Regions from separate parts of the Homo sapiens genome. Here regions 1, 3, 4, 5, 6 and 7 are each linked to region 2. The links are contacts of gene promoters, found by promoter capture Hi-C in blood cells and fetal thymus (Javierre and others, 2016). All regions are on one chromosome and are shown on one strand. The core of a region is centred on a gene start or on the middle of the fragment in contact, and the rest is flanking DNA. Distances in the headings are between cores, read along the strand shown.

The links. The method cuts DNA at HindIII sites, captures the fragments that hold promoters and counts their contacts. A CHiCAGO score of 5 or more calls a contact.
Region 1: a contact is called between a fragment that was not itself captured here and the fragment with the promoter of ZNF362 in region 2, in 1 of 17 cell types (M0 macrophages). The highest score is 5.4, in M0 macrophages.
Region 3: a contact is called between a fragment that was not itself captured here and the fragment with the promoter of ZNF362 in region 2, in 4 of 17 cell types (M0 macrophages, M2 macrophages, naive B cells and 1 more). The highest score is 7.5, in M0 macrophages.
Region 4: a contact is called between a fragment that was not itself captured here and the fragment with the promoter of ZNF362 in region 2, in 3 of 17 cell types (naive CD4 T cells, erythroblasts and total CD8 T cells). The highest score is 6.1, in naive CD4 T cells.
Region 5: a contact is called between a fragment that was not itself captured here and the fragment with the promoter of ZNF362 in region 2, in 1 of 17 cell types (neutrophils). The highest score is 5.6, in neutrophils.
Region 6: a contact is called between a fragment that was not itself captured here and the fragment with the promoter of ZNF362 in region 2, in 1 of 17 cell types (total CD4 T cells). The highest score is 5.2, in total CD4 T cells.
Region 7: a contact is called between a fragment that was not itself captured here and the fragment with the promoter of ZNF362 in region 2, in 2 of 17 cell types (M0 macrophages and erythroblasts). The highest score is 6.4, in M0 macrophages.

The regions. Positions count from the first base shown.
Region 1 is chr1:33,497,548-33,500,247 of GRCh38, forward strand. It overlaps ZSCAN20 (zinc finger and SCAN domain containing 20), which reads left to right. Exons shown (of 8, transcript NM_001377376.1): 8 at 1-2,700. Among named protein-coding and RNA genes, the nearest start is that of ZSCAN20, 26 kb to the left of the region's middle. The HindIII fragment of the contact is 4,309 bases long and covers 1-2,700 here.
Region 2 is chr1:33,255,147-33,257,846 of GRCh38, forward strand. It overlaps ZNF362 (zinc finger protein 362), which reads left to right and starts at 1,346. Exons shown (of 9, transcript NM_152493.3): 1 at 1,346-1,508. RefSeq lists silencers at 735-834, 1,277-1,336 and an enhancer at 1,802-2,096. The HindIII fragment of the contact is 6,922 bases long and covers 1-2,700 here.
Region 3 is chr1:33,477,544-33,480,243 of GRCh38, forward strand. It overlaps ZSCAN20 (zinc finger and SCAN domain containing 20), which reads left to right. Exons shown (of 8, transcript NM_001377376.1): 2 at 1,636-2,162. The coding sequence starts at 1,746. Among named protein-coding and RNA genes, the nearest start is that of ZSCAN20, 6.2 kb to the left of the region's middle. The HindIII fragment of the contact is 259 bases long and covers 1,153-1,411 here.
Region 4 is chr1:33,427,559-33,430,258 of GRCh38, forward strand. The region is part of intron 1 of PHC2 (polyhomeotic homolog 2); the gene reads right to left. Among named protein-coding and RNA genes, the nearest start is that of PHC2, 2.2 kb to the right of the region's middle. The HindIII fragment of the contact is 2,058 bases long and covers 364-2,421 here.
Region 5 is chr1:33,396,513-33,399,212 of GRCh38, forward strand. All of the region lies in intron 1 of PHC2 (polyhomeotic homolog 2), which reads right to left. Among named protein-coding and RNA genes, the nearest start is that of PHC2, 33 kb to the right of the region's middle. The HindIII fragment of the contact is 941 bases long and covers 926-1,866 here.
Region 6 is chr1:33,044,279-33,046,978 of GRCh38, forward strand. No RefSeq gene overlaps it. Among named protein-coding and RNA genes, the nearest start is that of AK2, 8.7 kb to the left of the region's middle. The HindIII fragment of the contact is 3,184 bases long and covers 1-2,700 here.
Region 7 is chr1:33,456,842-33,459,541 of GRCh38, forward strand. No RefSeq gene overlaps it. Among named protein-coding and RNA genes, the nearest start is that of ZSCAN20, 14 kb to the right of the region's middle. The HindIII fragment of the contact is 645 bases long and covers 951-1,595 here.

The DNA of each region.
Region 1 (2,700 bases), core at 51-2,550, 240 kb after region 2:
GTGAATGGAGTGTCAACACCAGGCCCGGGGCAATGTTCAGATGTGCATGGTTGAAATCTGACAGCTGAATGGAACTTGGACATGCTGCAATTAGGATGGCCTTTTGGGACACTGTTGTGGTATTTCAGCTAAAGGCTAGGGTCTGAACTAGAGCAGTGGTGACACTGAGGAGGAGGGAATGAATGGGAAAGGTCTCAGAGGCAGAGGGGAGGACATCAGAGGAAAGCTAGAATGCCTTTGGTGACTGGGTAGAGCATGTCCTCATTCAGAATTGGGAGCACAAGGAGGAGAGGCTGATAGAGCAGGAGGGCAGAAGATGAGAAGTTTAGTTTGGTATGTCTAGAACTTGAGGTGCTTAAGGGAAATCATGGTGATGCTATGCATTTGGATGTCGGCTAGCAGCTAGGGGAGAGGCTAGGACTAGAGATCTGTGTATGCGAAGTAGTTAAACTAATGAGAAAGGAAGAATTTCAGTTTCAAATATTGGGCCTAGGACAGAGCTACTTGATAGTGCTGAATGGAGAGGAAGATGGCCCTCAAAGGAGATCTAGACCATTCCCCACTCCCACCCACTACCATCATGTTCTGGACCCTGTCTTCTTTGTTACTGACCCCTGAATTCTTCATGTAGCCCTGAGTTTTCTGGAGCCCTCACTGTGGAAGTCAAGCTGAGCTCTGTGTGGATGTGAGGTGGTAGTCCTCTCTCCACTTGGTCACCCTTTCCCCTGGGTTTGGTAGTGTGTTAGTGTCTCATATCTTTAGTGAACAGTTTTGATGTTTATTATCTGCCATTCTTGTCTCATGAATCTTAATAGAGGTTCAGTCATGAAAGCAAGGCCAGTGTGGGCCAGGTGAGAAAATGGCCCAGGTGGTCCCTTCCTCCTTGTCTACCTGACTTCCTTTGGAAGAAGCACTCTTTCAGGGGGCTTCAGTGTTCCAGGCTTGCTGTCTACCCAAGAGCTTGCTGGGCACCCAGGCGCCCTCCAGTAGGTCTGTGCTGCTCAGATAAACTGACATCTGGTTTTACACACCCTGAGCTTTGCTAGCGTGATTCTGCTCTTGGGAAGTAGATTCACTCTGCAGAATGGGTGGACAGTTTCTCAGCCTTCCTGGCCACAGGTCAGACCCTGGTTATGGAAAACCAAACCAGCAAATGCTGCCCTGGGAGGGTGTTACATCATGTGAGCTGCTAAAGGCAGGATCGTCTCCCCAGATGGCTGCCTCCCCTTGATTTCTTCACCCTCCACCTCAAGAAGGGCATTGGCTCCTCTGAAGGGACAAAAAGGTACCTAAAGGACCTTAGGCCTCCCATTCCTCAGACCCCCAGAGGCAGCAGACCCAAAGGTAGGGGCAGGGAAAGGAGGGGCCAAGACTTTTTCAGATACTCGGTTTTTTCTAAGGCCTTGACCTCAGCAGCTGAACTCATGGTCATGGCTGCCTTGGCCTTATTGTCCACTGTAGCCTCCTCCCAGAAGCCGAGTAAAGCAGCTAGGGTCCCTCCATGCTAAATAATGTAGTCAGGCGCTCTGGGTAGTCCGTCCTGCCTCATCTTGTTCTGGGGCCCCCAGTGGGGATAGCTCTCTGCTTTCGGGCTGCAGAAAAGAATTGAGTCACTTTCTGTAGGGGAGTAACACCCTTTGGGGACAGGGGTGCAGTTTTGAAGTAATGAAGGCAGTGATGTCTGGAGTGGGTGTGGGTGTTGCAGGTGAACTTGCCTCACCCAGGCTGTTCTGGGTCTTTGTACTCCAGAGTTCTGTCCTAGGCTTGCTTCTTCATTCACTCTGTTTCCCTTTCTCTTCTTTTTTTCTTTTCCTTTCTTTCTCTCTTTTCTTCTGTGTAGATGCTAATGACTTCCAGATCTGTGTCCTGCTGTGGCCTCTCCTCTTAGGATCCCAGCTGCCTGCCAACCAGCTGTGCTTGGGTGACTCCTGGGCATCTCAAAGCCCCGGTGTCTACCATCACCCATCATGGGGCTCTTGGCCTGCCCATTCAGCACGTGCATTGATGTACACACTCAGTGACTCCCATCCAAGCCTCCCCTGCACGTGCCTGGAGAGACCTGCCCATTGGACTCATCTTGGACTCAGTTCTGCCAATACTTTCTCCCTTCTAAGAGCATTTCCAGTTGGGCTGGAGTTACCCAGCTGCCTGAGAGGTCTCTTTCTGAATGAAGTCAATATCTAAAGTCAAAATTAATCATTCAAAATATTCCCTTACCCCATTTTTTTTGGGGGGGAGATGGGGGTCTTGTGTTGCCCAGGCTGGTCTTGAACTCCTGGCCTCAAGCGATCCTCCCACCTCAGCCTCCCAAAGCTCCCCTTAACCTCAGTTTTGATCCCATCCTCCATTTGGGCATTGCTCAGCTCCCCCACCTGTTAATAGCAAACACCAATCTCAAGCCCCTGCCCCAATCTGCTACAAGGGGTTAGTGTTCCATGCAGTGGGAGTGCAGGGAAGGCTTTACAGGAGAGGAGGGAGTTGAAATGGGCCTGGAGGCCTGGGATGGTAGACACTGGATCCTTTTCCCCCACAGCTCCTGGCTGTTTCTTCACACTCCCAGCATCACTATTACTGCTAGCATGTCTTTAGCATCATTTTGCCCTCCCTCTGACTTTCAGCAAGCCTGCACTTACCTCCAAATAAATGCATGTTTTCGGGGGGCAAAGGCAGGTTCCTTCCTTACCTTATTGTTGCTTCCCC
Region 2 (2,700 bases), core at 96-2,595:
GGGCCCTGTCTTCGAGTTGCTCACAGTGTTTGCCATCCTGTGCTGGACTAGAATCTTCGTGAGGGCAGGGGCATTATCCAGTTTTTTAATAGCTGTGCTCCAGCCAACCAGCTATTAAAAACAGTGGTTGATGTTTACTAGGTCCTCTATGAATATTTACTGAATTTGGAAATGCTTCCTGGAGGACAAACGCTGGCAGATGATTGTTTATCTCTGTGCCCTTCCCGGGGGACTGTGCGCTCCCTGAGGGCAGGGCCAGCCCTGATCCATCCTGGCCCAGCGGTCGGGGGGTGGTGGATGCCATAGAAATCTAAGCCGGTGAAGGGATCCTGGAACCGGCTGCCTCCTCAGGTAGAAGTGTAAGTTTGGAAGCTGACACAGCTCGGGAGGCCGAATCAGGAGGACTTGGTGACTGATTGGCTGGGGAGGGTGAGGCGGGAGGAGGAGTCACACAGATGGCTCTGAGGTCTGGAGCCGGGGGACAGCCGGTGCCACCTCTGATAGACTCTGCGAGAGGAGCCACTGCCAGCTTCGGGCCGCCCCATCCGTCGGGGATCCGGCCTAGGGCTAGGGAGGGGTGGCTGGGCCTGTGCAAACTTCTACTCCCCACCCCTATGTCCTCGTCTTAAAAAAAAAATCGGCCTGGATTTTGAGCAGGTCGTTATCAGGGGTGAGGGTCCATCCTGGGGGTCCCCTCCAGGCGGCCGTCTTCGAGGGAGACCCCCAGGGGCAGCCTGGCACCGCGCGGGCTCGGCCTGGTCAGGGCCGTGGCCCGCCAGGCCCAAGTCCCCAGCCTGCCATCACCCAGGAGTGGGGTGGCGAGGCGGCCGCCGGGCCTGGGCAGGACAATGGCCACGGCCGCCGGGGCCCCGGGAGCCCCCGCGCTGGGGAAGGGGCTGTCCTAGGGCCGGGCGCCGGTGCCCTCCCCGCGCGGCTCAGGCGGGCGGAGGGGGGCGAGGAGTTCCTTTGTGGCTCTGCCTCCGGCGCGGCGCGGGCGGGGGGCGCAGCGCAACTTTGCCAGGCGGTGGCGGCGGCGGCGGCGGCGGCGACGGCGAGCGCGAGACGAGGCCCCGGGGCCCGAGTGGGGGCCCCAGCGCGCGGCCCGCCCCCGCCCCCCGCCCGGCCCCCTCCCCTCTCGCGCAGTCGCCAGCGCCCGGCGCTGCCCACTCGCGGGAGCCCCCGGGGCCGGACGGGCTGCGCAGCCGGAGAGGCGGGGGCCCGACGCGGCCCCCCCGGAGCCGGGCGCCTGGCGCGGGGGCTCGCCGAGCGCACTGGGGGCCGCGCGGCGCTGCAGACCCAGCCTCCCGCCGCCGCCGCCGCCGCCGCCTCGGCGCTTGCAGAACCCAGAAGTGAACAGCAGGCGACCCGGAAGGTTTGCGCGCGGCTCCGCAGCGAGCCAGAGCCGGAGCCCGAGCCCGGAGCCTGTGCCGGAGCCCCAGCCCGGCCCTGCTCGGGCCGCCGGGCGCGGGGCTGCGGCCGCGTCCCGGAGGCGCCGCCAGCACAGCCAGGTCCGTGCGGGCCCGGGGCGCGCGGGGAGCGGGCCCAGCGGCGGCGGGCGCCTGCCCGCGGGAAAGTTGCGCCGAGTTGCGGGCGGGGGCCGGGCCGGGGCGCGGGCGCTGTCAGCGCGGGCCGGGGCGCTCCGAGGGCCCGGGGCCGCCTGCGCCTCGGGCCCGGCCCAGAGCGGCGGCGGCGGCGGCGGCAGCGGGGCGCGCGGGGTAGGAAGTGTCTCCCGCGGCGTGTCTGGGGCTGGTCTCCGAGTGTGTGTGCGTGTGTGTGTGTGCGCGCGCGTGTGTGTGTGTTTTCTTAAGCCGGGCTATTCAAACCCTGCTGCAATTCTCCGGTAAACAATGATTCATGGGGCATAATGCAAATAAACGGATTGCAAACGGCGCGGTTCGCGCACTTTGCAGCCGGCCCGGTGGAGCAGCCAGTGCCGGATTTCTCCCTTTTTTTGCAGATCTGCAGAATATGGCGTCCCTGTCCTGTTTTAAAAATAAGCCAGGCTGCCATTTTTGTTTTTCTTTTGTCTGAAAATTTTAATAAAACTGTCTGAGAATGTGGGAGAGGCGGCTGGAAGCAGAGGGGGCACCCGAAGGGTTGGCTTTTTTCCTTTTCTTTGGCGAGAGCCGCGAGCCTTTCGGGGAGGTGAGACACAATGCAATTGCACTTTAAAGAAAAAAAAAAAGGGAAGCTGCCGGGCGATTTGAGGGGGGAGGGCTGGGAATTTAAAGTTAACTCCGAAAGTTTGCTTTGCTTTGCTTCTCTTTCTTTCTTTCTTTCTTTTTTTTTTTTTTTGGAAGGCGGTGAAATGCCGCGAAAGGATCTCGAGGCCCATTTCTCCCCCAGCCAGCTGCCTTTGCAGGATTTTTGGGAAAAGTTAACTGCCGGTTTCCTCAGAGCTGCGCGGGATGGGGGTGGGGGGGCGGATGTGGAGGGTTGAGGATGGGAGTTTTGGGGGAACTGGGAAACATTTATTTGGAAGGGGCTCTATAAACATGGCATTGTAAGGAGCTAGATCCTCAGATCTGGGGGAGAGGGCCGGCAAGAGGGGCTCAGAATGGGTCCAGGATTTCCAGCAAAGACCCCTGGCATGAGGAAATAATCCTGCTGTCCCACCACCCTGCCCTCGAGCAGTGTGGAACCTTCGGGAGCTGTGTGTGTGGCAGTGGGCCTGTCTCCTTCATGGGTGGCCAGGACCCC
Region 3 (2,700 bases), core at 32-2,531, 220 kb after region 2:
TCCTTCTCATACAATGTCTCATACAGTGTAGAAAGTGGTAAGTGTCACAGAGACATGGAAATAAAAGAGAAAGGAATTCCTTTTGGCATGAGCGCGAAGGTCATTTATTTTTTATCTAGTGTGCACAGAAAGGGATTAATTGCAATCCTTGCTTAATGACACACCATCATCATTAGTCAATCATTCGTGACTTTATTATTTATTGAGTACTTCCTATATGTGCTGAGCACTGTGCTAGGTCTCTTGGGAAGCTAATGATCTAGTGGGTAAGAAAATTACAGTAAAGCATGATCTGGGCTATGGTAGAGAAAATGTAAGATGCTATGGGAGCTTGTGGTCGAGGACTGAATCTTGTTTCAGGGTGCAGGGAAGGCCTTACGGAAAAAGAGCAATTTAAGCTGAGACCTTGCTAGCTGAAGGAAGGGAGGAGACCATTCCCAAAGGAGACCTTCCCAAAGAGGGGAAGGTTCAGAGGGCAGCGTGGTGTAAGATCTGGAAGCTGTGCTTCTGGAGCACCATGACTAGTGGAGCATGGTAAAGAGACGAGTTGGAGACTTGGGTAAGGCTTGTGCTTTGTCCTGAGGGAAATGGTAGATCACTGGAGGGTGTTTAGCAGGGAGGTGGTGTAGTCAGGCTTTGATCTAGTTTGGTTGTTGTGCAAACAATAGAGCAGAGGTTGGGGTGAGGTGAGTGGAGGCAGGGACGTGTTAGGAGACTGATCAGGTGGAAGACATGATGATTCTCTGCACTGAAGTGGTAGCATTGGAGATGGAGATGCCAAGTGGACACAGCGTGGTGATGAATTGGATTTGGGGATCTTAGAGAATGATGATGACCAGGTTTCTGGTGTGGAGAACTTGATGGCAGTGCCTTCACTGAAGGGGGAGCTTCAGAAGGCAGACATGATTGCAGGAGAAAATAACAAATCCAGTTTTTGACTCATTGAGTTTGAGGTGCCTAAGGGACAGTCAAGTAGAAGTGTCATGAAGGGGTTTGGATTTTGGGGTCTGGAGGTCTGGAAACAGGTCCTTGCTGGAGTTTTAGGAGTCATGTATAGGGATGATGAATAATGCCAAATAGGTGGGATGACCAGGGGATAGCATAGAGTTGTTGGATTTTGCAAGGAGAACATCCTTAGAGGAATGCCAGCCAAGCTTTAAGATTAGGGAAGAAAGGCCTTAGGAAGGGGGTGACATTTGGAACCCAACTTGAGGGAAGGTTGGACTTTGGACATGTGTAGAAGGGAGGAAGTCTACACTGGACCAGATCATGGAGGTGTGGGATGCCAGGCTAAGGTGTTCAGGCATGACCTAGAGGATTGAATACAGTGCTGTCTTCCTCCAAAGTGTGAGGCTCAAATGAGATATTAATTGACATTTTGTGAGCACTCACTGTGTCAGACACTGGTCTAAGCTTTTTATATATAGATCCCTCATCTAATCAACCCAGCAGTCAAGTAAGGTAGGTGCTACTGGCTTTGGTGCCAGATTGTGGCCTTACTTCCTGCCTATGGGAAAGGGGCATCTCTTAGCACCTCTGCCCCCATGCAAAGGTGGCGGAAGATATGGGGGAAGGGGGAGAATGAAGCTTCTGCATCCTTTTGCTCACACTCTATCCTTTGTCTTTCTGCCTTAGAGCCTTGGGGAGCAGTCCCTTTTCTAGGAGCCTCTTGAAGGACTCACCGTAGATGCAGGAAGACATTGGATGAGGTCAGCATAGCTGAAGTGAGGTGTCTGGGTTAGACAATGGCTATGGCCCTGGAATTGCAAGCCCAGGCATCTCCGCAGCCAGAGCCTGAAGAACTCCTGATTGTGAAACTGGAAGAGGACTCTTGGGGATCAGAATCCAAACTCTGGGAGAAGGACCGTGGCTCTGTCTCTGGCCCAGAGGCCTCCCGCCAGCGCTTCAGGCAATTCCAATACAGGGATGCAGCTGGACCCCACGAGGCCTTCAGCCAGCTCTGGGCTCTCTGCTGTCGTTGGCTGAGGCCGGAGATCCGTCTCAAAGAGCAGATCCTGGAGCTGCTCGTGCTGGAGCAGTTCCTGACTATCTTGCCTAGGGAGGTCCAGACCTGGGTGCAGGCACGCCACCCTGAGAGTGGTGAGGAGGCTGTGGCCTTGGTGGAGGATTGGCACCGAGAGACCAGGACTGCAGGACAGTCGGTGAGACAAACAGTCTTCTCCTGCAGAGGAGTGGGTCAGGCAAGGCAGCAGGGTTGTGACTACGTTAATAATTGCCAAATTCACAATAAAAATAACAATAGTTATTGAGAACTGACACTTATTGACCACTACTGTATACCAGGAAGTGTTCTAAGTGCTTTACATGTATTAACCCACTTAGTCCTGTCAACAATTTAATGAGATAGGTGCTATTATCCTAATTTTACCAGTGAGAAAACAGAGACAGAGAAAAGATAGGTAAGTTGCCCAGGGTCTCAACAGCTGCTAGATGGTAGAGTCAGGATTTGAACTCAGGCATTCTAACTCTAAAGCTGGTATGCCTAACCACTACTCCAAACTGCCTCCCACTACCGTATTCACAATATGATTAACTCGTGTTTTATACTTAACAAAATCTTTCTGCATATGTGATGTCTCTGAGTGCTTATAGCAGTAATGTAGGTAGACAGAAATAGTACTGTTGTCCCCATTTTATAGATTAAACTAAGAGCCAAAAAGTTGGCCGGGAGTGGTGGCT
Region 4 (2,700 bases), core at 143-2,642, 170 kb after region 2:
TTTTCATATCCCCATGGCCACCCCCGCCACTCTACTGAAGCTATCATTTTCAAAAAGTTACCAATGACCTTCTGTTTACTAAGTATAATGAATGTTTCCCACTCTTTCTGTACAATTTCAAACTGCTGACGAATTTCTGCAGCTCAAAACTTTTTCTTCTCTTGACTTCTGTGATACTACACTCTCATGGTTAATAGCGTGTCTAACTGGCCTTGGCATCTGTCAGGTACACAACAAATGGTGGTGAATAGAATGCATTTGTTGGATAAATACATTAGATGGTTCTCTTGCTTCTTTTCTTATTTTCTACCATACGGACTCCATGCCTTCTCCCTCCCTCCCTAAATGTGGGATGTATCTTCAAGCTTCAGTCCTTCATCCTCTATTCTATTTCTATGCTGTTACCAGCAGTGAACTCAGCTAATCATATGGCTTCAATTATCACCATTTTTTTTCTTTTCTCAACTCCTATAATACCACGCATTAAGCATCTCAAAAAGGTACTAAATGACTGCTATACATTTGTGATTTCATTTAGTCCTCACAACTATATTGGGTAGGTGGCATTATTACAGATGAAGAAACTGAAGTCAAAGTCATGTAGCAAGTACCTGGTAGAACTGGGATCCAAATCTTTGTTTAGCTGAGAATAACCCCCATACTACACCACCACTCTCATTTTCCTGTCTCCTCCACATCACAAATACAGGATAGTATTTGCACACAAGCAGGTGTTCAGTAAATACACTGACTGAGAAGATTGCTTAAATACCGCCCATGATTTTCCAGCACTTACAGTATCATCAATCTTAGCAGACCGTATTAAGCATGTCACCCCAGTGACACCTTCTTTACACGACTTGATCTGTAATATAATTCAAAACAGGAAATTTGCCAAAAACTCACCATAATCCATTCTAAAAATAAATGTGGTCTAAGCAAAGCAAAAAGGCCTTTATCTGATTCAAATATTAGAAGAGTTTTGGGGATGAGGTCCACTTTGCTACTCTGGGCCCAACCTTGCTCAGCTTCTAAATGATCAGGAAGTAAAAATAGGCTGGCTAGTTGATGGCTAATGAGGTTAAATGGACTATTTATAGTTCTAGAGATAGATGCTAAGACAGCAGAATGGGATTTTCTCTGCTCTGTTAGCTAAGACCTCATTAAAAGAAGCCCAATGCATGAGACATGGGTGGAAACTGGGATGAAGAGAAGAGGATAATAGTAAGGAGGGAGGGTGAACAGAAAGGAGGAGGCATTGGAAAGCCTATGGAGGGCCTGGCCCAGTCTGGCAGATCCACCGCTGTTCTGCACAGCTGGCACCATGCAACAGTGGGCTCAGCTGCATGTGCACGATTCATGGTCTCAATCCTGGACTACTTGCCCTGACCCATCTCACACTCCAATCCTCTCTTAATCCAGATCCTTCCAGCTTCTGATCTTACTACTTATTTCCCCAGGTCTCACAAATTTGACATTCAGCATTGCTTCCCTAGTTATGGTCATGTATTCTCTTTTTGTATGATTTAGATTTGCCCCTCTCAGATGCTGCCTCTAGTGCCAAACATTATGCCCAGTTTCAGGCCCTCTCCCTTGGAGCAACTGAAAACTACTCCTATTCAACCTCCACATGATGGACCCTTACTTGGGAAGATATGGGTGACAAAGACCAGGAATGAGGCTCAGAAAAACTGATGAGGGGAAAATATGGGGGAGAAAACAATAAGAAAAATATCACTGGACAACTGTGCTGGGAATAAGAAATTCTAGGCTACTTTTAGAAAGTTACATTACAGAGGAAGGAAAAAAAGCCATAGTTACAATAGAAAGCCATTCCCTAGAGATAACATATTCTTTATGTGGCTGCATTCGCTGTTCCCCCGCTTTGGCTGCCTTTTCAGTCCTTTCCAATTTTCTCTGCAAGGTAAACTCCTATTTATCCTTCAACACCTTGCTTAAATGTGTTCTCTGGAAAGCCTTCCCTGGTCCTCTCAGACAGCTAATTGTTCCCTCCTCTGTGCTTCCAAAGCCCTTTGCATTCACATCTATTATGCTGTTAATCACTTTTACTAGCAATTTCATTTGTTTCTCCTACCACTTCTTTCAGGACAAGGACTAATTATCTTATTCATCTTTGCATCCCCAAGACATAGCAGAGTGCCTGGCATATGCCAAGTATTTGTTGTTGGGTGATAAAAGACATCAAGAGCAACGTGGAAGTGGAATTTGCACTTCACTTGCAAAATCAAATTGGTTTCTGGTACTTTTCAATTGTAACCGCATTTTCTCTTGATTTAGAAGGAACGACTTTAGACTCACAAAAGAAACTCTATTGATATCACGGGCGCATTAGCCGATTTTTCATCCCCACTGGTGATAGAAATATTTTTTACCCCACACTTCCAAGAAACTCCCAGGGCAAGCTTAGTATCAGTGGCGCATCTCTCCTCCTACCATTTCTATTGTCGCAAAAGCTAAATTACACTGTGAGCCTAAAGCTGCCACCAGTCTTAGTGAATTGGGGGAGGGGGATAATTACAAGAAGACACTTCTGTAGCAGACCTGGGGAGGGGGGAAGATGAATTTAAACCTCGCCTTATAAGAAATTTGTTAGACACTCACGTAGAACAGCCGCTTCCTCCGTGTATGACAGACCCGATCCAGGTGTCCAGCAGCGACCTTTTCCCATGGGTGTCAGGT
Region 5 (2,700 bases), core at 146-2,645, 140 kb after region 2:
TTACCAGTTTCATCGATCCCTATCTTGCTAATTAGCATATAAATTAGCCATTTGGGGGAGGCATTAGGCAAAATTGAATTTTCTCCTTAATCTTCTTTCAGAAGGTAAATGAAAATGGATGTGGCCTGTTAAAGCCCATGGCCTTCCTCTGACACAATCTAAGTGCTGTTCACAGCCAAGGAACCCTCTGGTATGGGGAGAGAGTGGCTTGTGGAAGGCGGCTTCCTGCCCCGTAACTGATAAGAGCTGCGGTCAGAATCCTTGAAGAGTTTTCACAAAAATTTGAGGTAGAGGCTTTGCAAGCTGAGATGCATTTCTTTGGAGGAGACACTCTGAGCTGACGGACAGCAGCGTCCTCCTCCCACACAGACACAAGAGGAGGCCCCTTGGTACAGCACTTCCTATGGTGTTCACTTTCAAGGCTGAAATGGAGAATGCCACTCGCTCTTTGGTTTAGTGTTAACACGAGGAGTCTGGAATCAGATGGTCTGTGGGAAGGCCTGCTCTGCCTCTTACCAGCTGTGTAATATTGAGCACATTCACCTCTCTAAGCCTTAGTTTCCTCATCTGTGAAATGGGGATAATCACAACACCTACTTCACTGAGTAGCTGGGACAATGAGAGGAACCATATATTCAGAGCATTCAGCACAGGGTCTGGCAGCAGCACCATCACCAGGCACCAGAGGTCAAATAAAAATCTTAGGAAATTGAATGCCAGGGTTCTCCAGAGGGAGCTGCTCAGCTCTGAAGTAAACATTACCAGGTGCTTAGTCCCGGGAACAGGTCACAGGCCAGTAGTTGAGGGCCACTTCTTGAGTCTTTGGAGCATGTTGAAAATGCAGAATCTTGGGCCCCACCCCAGACCTGCTGAATCTGAATGAGCATTGCAACAAGATCCTCTGGGTCATTCACGTGCACATTAAAGCTTAAGAGGAATTGTTTTGAGCCATCCTCTTAATTATAATCTTACCCTGTTAGACAAGGAGGAGACTTCGCAGAAAGGTTAAGTAACTTGCTTACAGTCCATCCATGGCAGAGACCAGATGAGGCCTCGGTCTCCTGACTCTGAGACTGGTCCAGATTCAGCTGTGGCCCTCCTGAGTCTGTTCCTCTGGCAGCACGGCAGCTCTCTGCCCTCTTTGTTTGGGGTGGTCTCAGTGGGTGATTTTGGCTCTGCCTCAGGGTACATCCACCATGCACTTTGAAAGGAGATATTCCTTTGGAATATTGTTGGGGGTTATGAAGCCTGGTTACCAGGATGACCTCTGCAGAGAATACTGATGCGACAAAGGAAAATACCCTTGATGACCTCTGCAAATGCTTGCCTGCCCTTTGAACTCAAAATGCTTCAGATAAGGATACACAAGAAATCGCAGACAGTGATGCCTCCCGGGGAGTAGGGGGAGGCATGCTTTTCACCGTATACTCTTTTGAATCTTTTGGACTTTGTTCCCTGTGCATGTAAAAAAATACTTAAAAATTAATTGTTAAATAATATTACAAGAATGCCTCAGACAGATTGCAACTAAAAACAAGACCCCATCTGGCTCTGCCATTAGATCATCTAGCCCTGCTTATGATAGCACTGCTTTTTGCTTCTCTTTCCTCCTGAAACCTGAAACTGAAAAGCATTGTGGAAAGGCTCTAAGGCTTGAGTGCAGAGGTAGACTCTGGTCTTGCTTCAGCACTATCAGATTCCTCAGCAGGATGTGAAATGCTTTGCAACATTTTAAATGACATTAAGTAAGTGTAATTATGATTTAAACCCCACCTCTACCCCCAGTAAATCACAGCCAGAGGAAGGAGAGAACTTTTGTCTAATAGGCTTCCCCTAGATTTGGAATAACCAATCAAAATGGCACTAAGCTTGTTACAAATGTAATATGCATAATATAATCCCATTGTTAAGTACATGTTATTTAATGTATAGCTTAGCTGGGAGGATAGATACCAAATGTTAACAATGGCTGCTTTGGGTGATAGTGTTACTGCTGATTTTTATTTTCTCATTTATCCTTTTCTTTATTTTCCAAATGTCTATGTATCTTAAAGTATCTGGGCTTCAACATCACAGTATTCTTAGCACAAAACATAAGGGAAAAGATGCTCACTTCCCATCTGAACATTCATTCACAAGCTGGTAGTGCAGTTCTGCCCACATTGGTCCTCTGCATTGAAGTACCTGCTGAACGAGGGGCTGCAGGCATTCTTGGTTTCCCAAAGCTATATTCCAGTAGATACAGGGACTTTTTGGTAGTTTTCAGAGCTAGAAAGCACACACAGATGGGAGGCACTGGTTTCTAGGATGGCTTCACAACAGAGGGCACAGTTGGCTAAAGTCAATTCCTGACCCAGACATTGACCATGAAGTGTTCTTGGGGCAAGTCCAGTTGACCTCGATAGCCTCGCTGATTGTTGCTTGGAGGGTAGGTGAAAAAGACACGGTTTCTTTCTTCAGGCAGTCTGGGTCCAGAGTTCAAGGAGTTTTACAGTATTGGAAGAACAATGAAACTATATACAAGGCAAAATGTGAAAAATTCTACTACAGATGTACAAAGTGAACAGTAGAACAAAACAGTGTGTGGGGTTGGGGTATTCAGGCCTGAATAGGATCCACCTCTGTCCTGCATTATGAGTGTGACTAGGACAAGGTGCTATGCTACACTGAGTCACTGTTTCCTTGTCTTTAAAGCAGAAA
Region 6 (2,700 bases), core at 178-2,677, 210 kb before region 2:
GAGACCCTGTCTCTAAAAACAAAACAAAAGCAAGGTTTCCACCTTTAGAAAACTCTCCACTTCGGGCTGGGCGCAGTGGCTCACACCTGTAATCCCAGCACTTTGGGAGGCCGAGGCGGTCAGATCACCTGAGGTCAGGAGTTTAAGACCAGCGTGGCCAGCATGGTGAAACCCTGTCTCTACTAAAAATACCAAAATTAGCCAGGTGTGGTGGCATGTGCCTGTAATCCCAGCTACTTAGGAGGCTGAGGCAGGAGAATCACTTGAACCTAGGAGGCAGAGGTTGTAGTGGGCTGAGACTGTGCCACTGCACTCTAGACTGGGTGACAGAGCAAGACCCCATCTCAAAAAAAAAAAAAGAAAAGAAAAGAAAACTCTCCACTTCTACAGAACTTGCAGTCAAGCGGGGGAAAAAAACAAAAAAAACAACAAATAAGACATTGACGGAGTCTGTGCTGGGAAAGGTACAGGCTTCAGTAACAGCACAATAGAGGAGCCCCCAGCTCAGATTTGAGGGGAAATGATGTGTAAGTGAGATGAAACCTTAAGAACAAGGAGGATTTGCTTAGGGAAGAGAGGGAAGAAGGGTATTCTAGACAAAGGGAATGGCATGTGCAAAGGCCTGGAGTTAAGAAAGATTATGACAAGAGGTTGGGCGTGGTGGCTCATGCCTGTAATCTCAACACTTTGGGAGGCCGAGGTGGGCAGATCACCTGAGGTCAGGAGTTCAGGACCAGCCTGGCCAACATGGTGAAACCCCATCCCTACTAAAAATACAAAAATTAGCCAGGTATGGTGGCGAGCATCTGTGATCCCAGCTACTCGGGAGGCTGAGGCATGAGAATCACTTGAACCTGGGAGGCGGAGGTTTCAGTGAGCCAAGATCATGCCACTGCACTCCAGCCTGAGGGATAGAGCAAGACCCTATCTCCAAAAAAAAAAAAGAAATATTATAGAAAGTTGAGGGGAACTGTGATATTTGGCAGAGGAACACCCCTCTTGTGTTGTGGAAATCCTTCACTGCAAGGAACTTGGGGGAAAACAGAGCCACCCTGCAGAAGCTGAAAGGGCAGACTCTTGCCTGCCTTCTTGGCAACAGGGGAGTGAGCACGTGACCAGGCTTGGCCAGTGGGATGTCCTGCCCAGGACTTTGACTCTTGAGGGAGAGAGAGGAAGGGGCAGGGCCTGTTCTTGGTGGGGAGGTAAGAGTCCAGCCTCAGTGGGTGGACCGTGGCCAGTGGTGGCTGTCCAGGTAGGCTTTTCCTGTGCCATGTCTTTGGCTGTGTTCTTAGCCTAATTACTTTTGGTTCCTACTCATGTTTGGAATTGGTGAAAACCTCACAGTATTCAATAAATTCCTTCACTGCTTAGGTTAGCCACCAAGACTTCTGTTTGGTACAGAGTTGAAAGAGGGTCAGTCTGGCTGGAGTTACAACTCAAGAGGGTAAGGAAAGAAAAAAGGGGGAGAGGAGACAGGGTCCTATGGGAAATTCTCTTGGGGGCTTTTGTGGGAGGCTTTGCTTTCCAGGAAAAAGAGATGCACAAGAAGAAAAACTCCCTTCCTGCCTGCCTCAGGGATGATGCAGCGCTTGAAATGTAGCAGCTATCTTGGGACCAGGAGGGGAGAGCTGCGAGACTCAGAGGGAAGCTGACCTAGGGTCTGACATCACTGAGCTGCTGAATTAAGCAACTCAGATGTCACCTTCTTCCACACTTCCTGTGATGAGAGATAAACCCCTAATGTTCAAACCGCATCTATGTCGGCATTCTGATACTCACTGCCCAAAGCACCTTATGTGACATGGCAAGTAACTTAACCCTGCTGGGCCTCAATTTCTCTTTGCAAAATCAGGATGCCGATACCCACTTCACAGGATCACAGTGAGTATCAGATTACATAATGGATGTAAAGTACTTAGCACGGTGCCCTACTCATGGTAAGCACTCAGTAAATGTTAACTATTACTACCTGCGTCAAAGACATAGAGGAGATGAGCTTGTTTTGTGGGAGGGTAGAGAGGAGAGAAGAATGACGACTAAAAGCTGGGAAGCCAACACTTGAGGGGAAAGGAATCAGAGAATGACTAGAGACTAAAGAAGAAAACCTGAAATTTCATTCTACCCACCACATCCTTTTTTTTTTTTTTTTTTAAGACGGAGTCTCACTCTGTTGTCCAGGCTGGGGTGCAGTGGTGTGACCTTGGTTCACTGCAACCTCTGCCTCCGGGGTTCAAGCAATTCTCCTGCCTCAGCCTCCTGAATAGCTGGGATTACAGGTGCCTGCTACCATGCCTGGCTAATTTTTGTATTTTTAGTAGAGGTGGGATTTCACCATGTTGGCCAGGTTGGTCTTGAACTCCTGACCTCAGATGATCCCCCACCTTAGCCTCCCAAAGTGCTGGGATTACAGGCATGAGCCACCGTGCACGGCCACCACATTCTTTTTCTTTTTCTTTCCCCTTTTTTTTTTTTGAGACAGAGTTTCACTCTGTTGCCCAGGCTGGAGTGCAGTGGCTCGATCTCAGCTCACTGCAACCTCTGCCTCCTGGGTTCAAGCGATTCTCCTGCCTTAGTCTCCCAAGTAGCTAGGATTACAGGTGCCCACCAACAGACTCGGCTAATTTTTATATTTTTAGTAGAGACGAGGTTTCACATGTTGGCCAGGCTGGTCTTGAACTCCTGACTCAAGTGATCCACCCA
Region 7 (2,700 bases), core at 23-2,522, 200 kb after region 2:
GACACAGCCACTTGGTATATAATAGTCATTTTGTTTTGTTTTGTTTTATTTATTTATTTTGAGACAGGGTCTCACTCTGTCATCCAGGCTGGAGGGCAATGGTGCAATCACAGCTCACTGCAGGGTCTATCTCCTGGGCTCAAGTGATTCTCCCACCTCAGCCTCCTGAGTAGCTGGGACTACAGGCATGTGCCACCACGCCCAGAAAATTTTTGTATGTTTTTGTAGAGATGGGACTTCACCATGTTACTCAGGCTAGTCTCAAACTCCTGGGCTCAAGCAATTTACCTGCCTTGGCCTCACAAGATGCTGGGATTATAGGCATGAGGCACCACCCCTGGCCTATAACAGTCATTTTAAACTGAGTACTTTAAAAGTTGAACTAATTCTTCTAAATCTGTTCTCCCACAGTCTTGGCATCATCCTTGACTTCTCTTTCCTCACACCCCACGTCCAACTCATCAGCCAATGCTGTCAGTTCCATCTTCAAAATATATCCAGAATTTAACCATGTCTTAACCTCTTAATCCCAAGTCTATCACCAGGGTTCAAGCCCACATTATCTTACACCTGACTTAATGCAACAACTCCTCACTTATCCCTCTGCTTCTGTCCTCATGCAACCACCACTATCCCCAGCAATTCTGCTCTTATCATAGCAGCCCGAATGATTCTTTGATAGTATAAACAGGCTTGTGTCACTCCTCTGATGAAAACCCTCTAATGACCCCATATCTCATACAGAATAAAAGCCAGAGTCCTGACAACAGTCTACGGCGCCACCCTGAGCGGCTATGCCCTGCAGATGTCTCTGATTTCATCCGCTATCCCTCTTCTGGCTCATTCCACTTTAGCCGCCCTGGCCTCCTGGCTTCCACCTCCCACCTTAGGGCCTTTGCACTTGCTGCTTCCTCTGCCAGAGAGATGGGTGGTTCCCTCTCCATTCTTCAAGCTTCTGTTCAAATGTCACCTCACTAGAGAGGTCTTCTTAGACACATTACTTAAAATTCTACCTTGATTCCTACCCTTGTTTCTCCCCATCCACCTTCATTGCTTTATTTTTCTTTCTTTCTTTTTTTTTTTTTTGAGATGGAGTCTCGCTCTATCACCCAGGCTGGAGTGCAGTGGCGCAATCTCGGCTCACTGCAAGCTCCGCCTCCCAGGTTCACGCCATTCTCCTGCCTCAGCCTCCCGAGTAGCTGGGACTACAGACGCCCGCCACCACGCCCAGCTATTTTTTTGTATTATTAGAAGAGACGGGGTTTCACTGTGTTAGCCAGGATGGTCTCGATCTCCTGACCTCATGATCCGCCTGCCTCAGCCTCCCAAAGTGCTGGGATTACAGGCGTGAGCCACCGTGCCCGGCCCATTGCTTTATTTTTCACCATATAACTCATGATTATATAATATATTGTATATTTACTTTAAAAATTGTCTGTTTTCTCCCATTAAAAGTAAGCTCCACAGTCTCAGGAATTTTAGATGTTTTGTTCACTGCTTATTCCCCACCACCTAGCGCAGTGCCTGGCACATTGTTGGGTGAATAAATAAAAACTACAATTGTGCTTCTGTCACCTTCTCCTTATAGTTCTAAAAGCTTTGATGTGTGTGTTTTGTGGCTCTAGTAATAGAGCTTTTATTATTTCCACATGATCCTCTTTAATCACTTAATGATTTGTCTTAAATTCTATTTTGTTTTCATATTATTGTTATTATTACCAAATTATGTCTTTTCATTGTTGGAAAGACTTCAAAGAGTTTTATTTTGTTTTAGGTTCAAAGTCATGCTATCTGCTAAGAAAATAGGGTGGGAGAACAGAGCCTCTCAATGTCCTGGGAGTATTGTTTTGTCTCAGGCAAAAGTTCCTAACGTGGTGACTCATATTTAAAACCATCAGTCTTGTAGCATTAACTCATGGTTAGTAAAAACAGACACACACACACACACACACGCATGCATACACACAGACACATCTACAAACAACAAACCTTCCAGAATACAAAAGCAAAAACCCATCACAGGTGGGCAGAGCTTACCAGGGAAAGAGAACAGCTACTGCAAAAGCCCTTAGGTGGAGGTGGGCGTGGCCCTTCTGATCAGCAGAGAGAAGGCCAAGTGTGTTGGGAAAGAGAGAGAGAGAGATGGGGGGAGTTGCATGGTTGGTATTCAATGGTGGGTGAGAACCAGCTCAGGTAAGGCATTGTAGGTCAGACAAAAAAAAATTATAAATGTGATGGGAAGCCATTGAAGGGCTTAAGCAAGAGAGTGCTGTGATATGGTTTATATTTTTATTTATTTATTTATTTATTTATTTATTTATTTATTTATTGAGACAGAGTCTCGCTTTGTCTCCCAGGCTGGAGTGCAATGGTGCGATCTTGGCTCACTTCAATCCCTGCCTCCCAGGTTCAAACAATTCTCGTGTCTCAGCCTCCTGAGTAGCTAGGATTACAGGTGCCTGCCAGCACACCCGGTTAATTTTTTTTTTTTTTGTATTTTTAGTAGAGATGGGGTTTTACCATGTTGGCCAGGCTGGTCTCAAACTCCTGACCTCAAGTGATCTTCCCACCTTGGCCTCCCAAAGTGCTGGGATTACCAGCATGAACCACTGCGCCCAGCCATGGTATATTTTTAAAAACTCACTCGAGATTCTGTGTGGAGGATGGGTTGCAGGGGGCAAGAATGAAAGCAGAGAGACA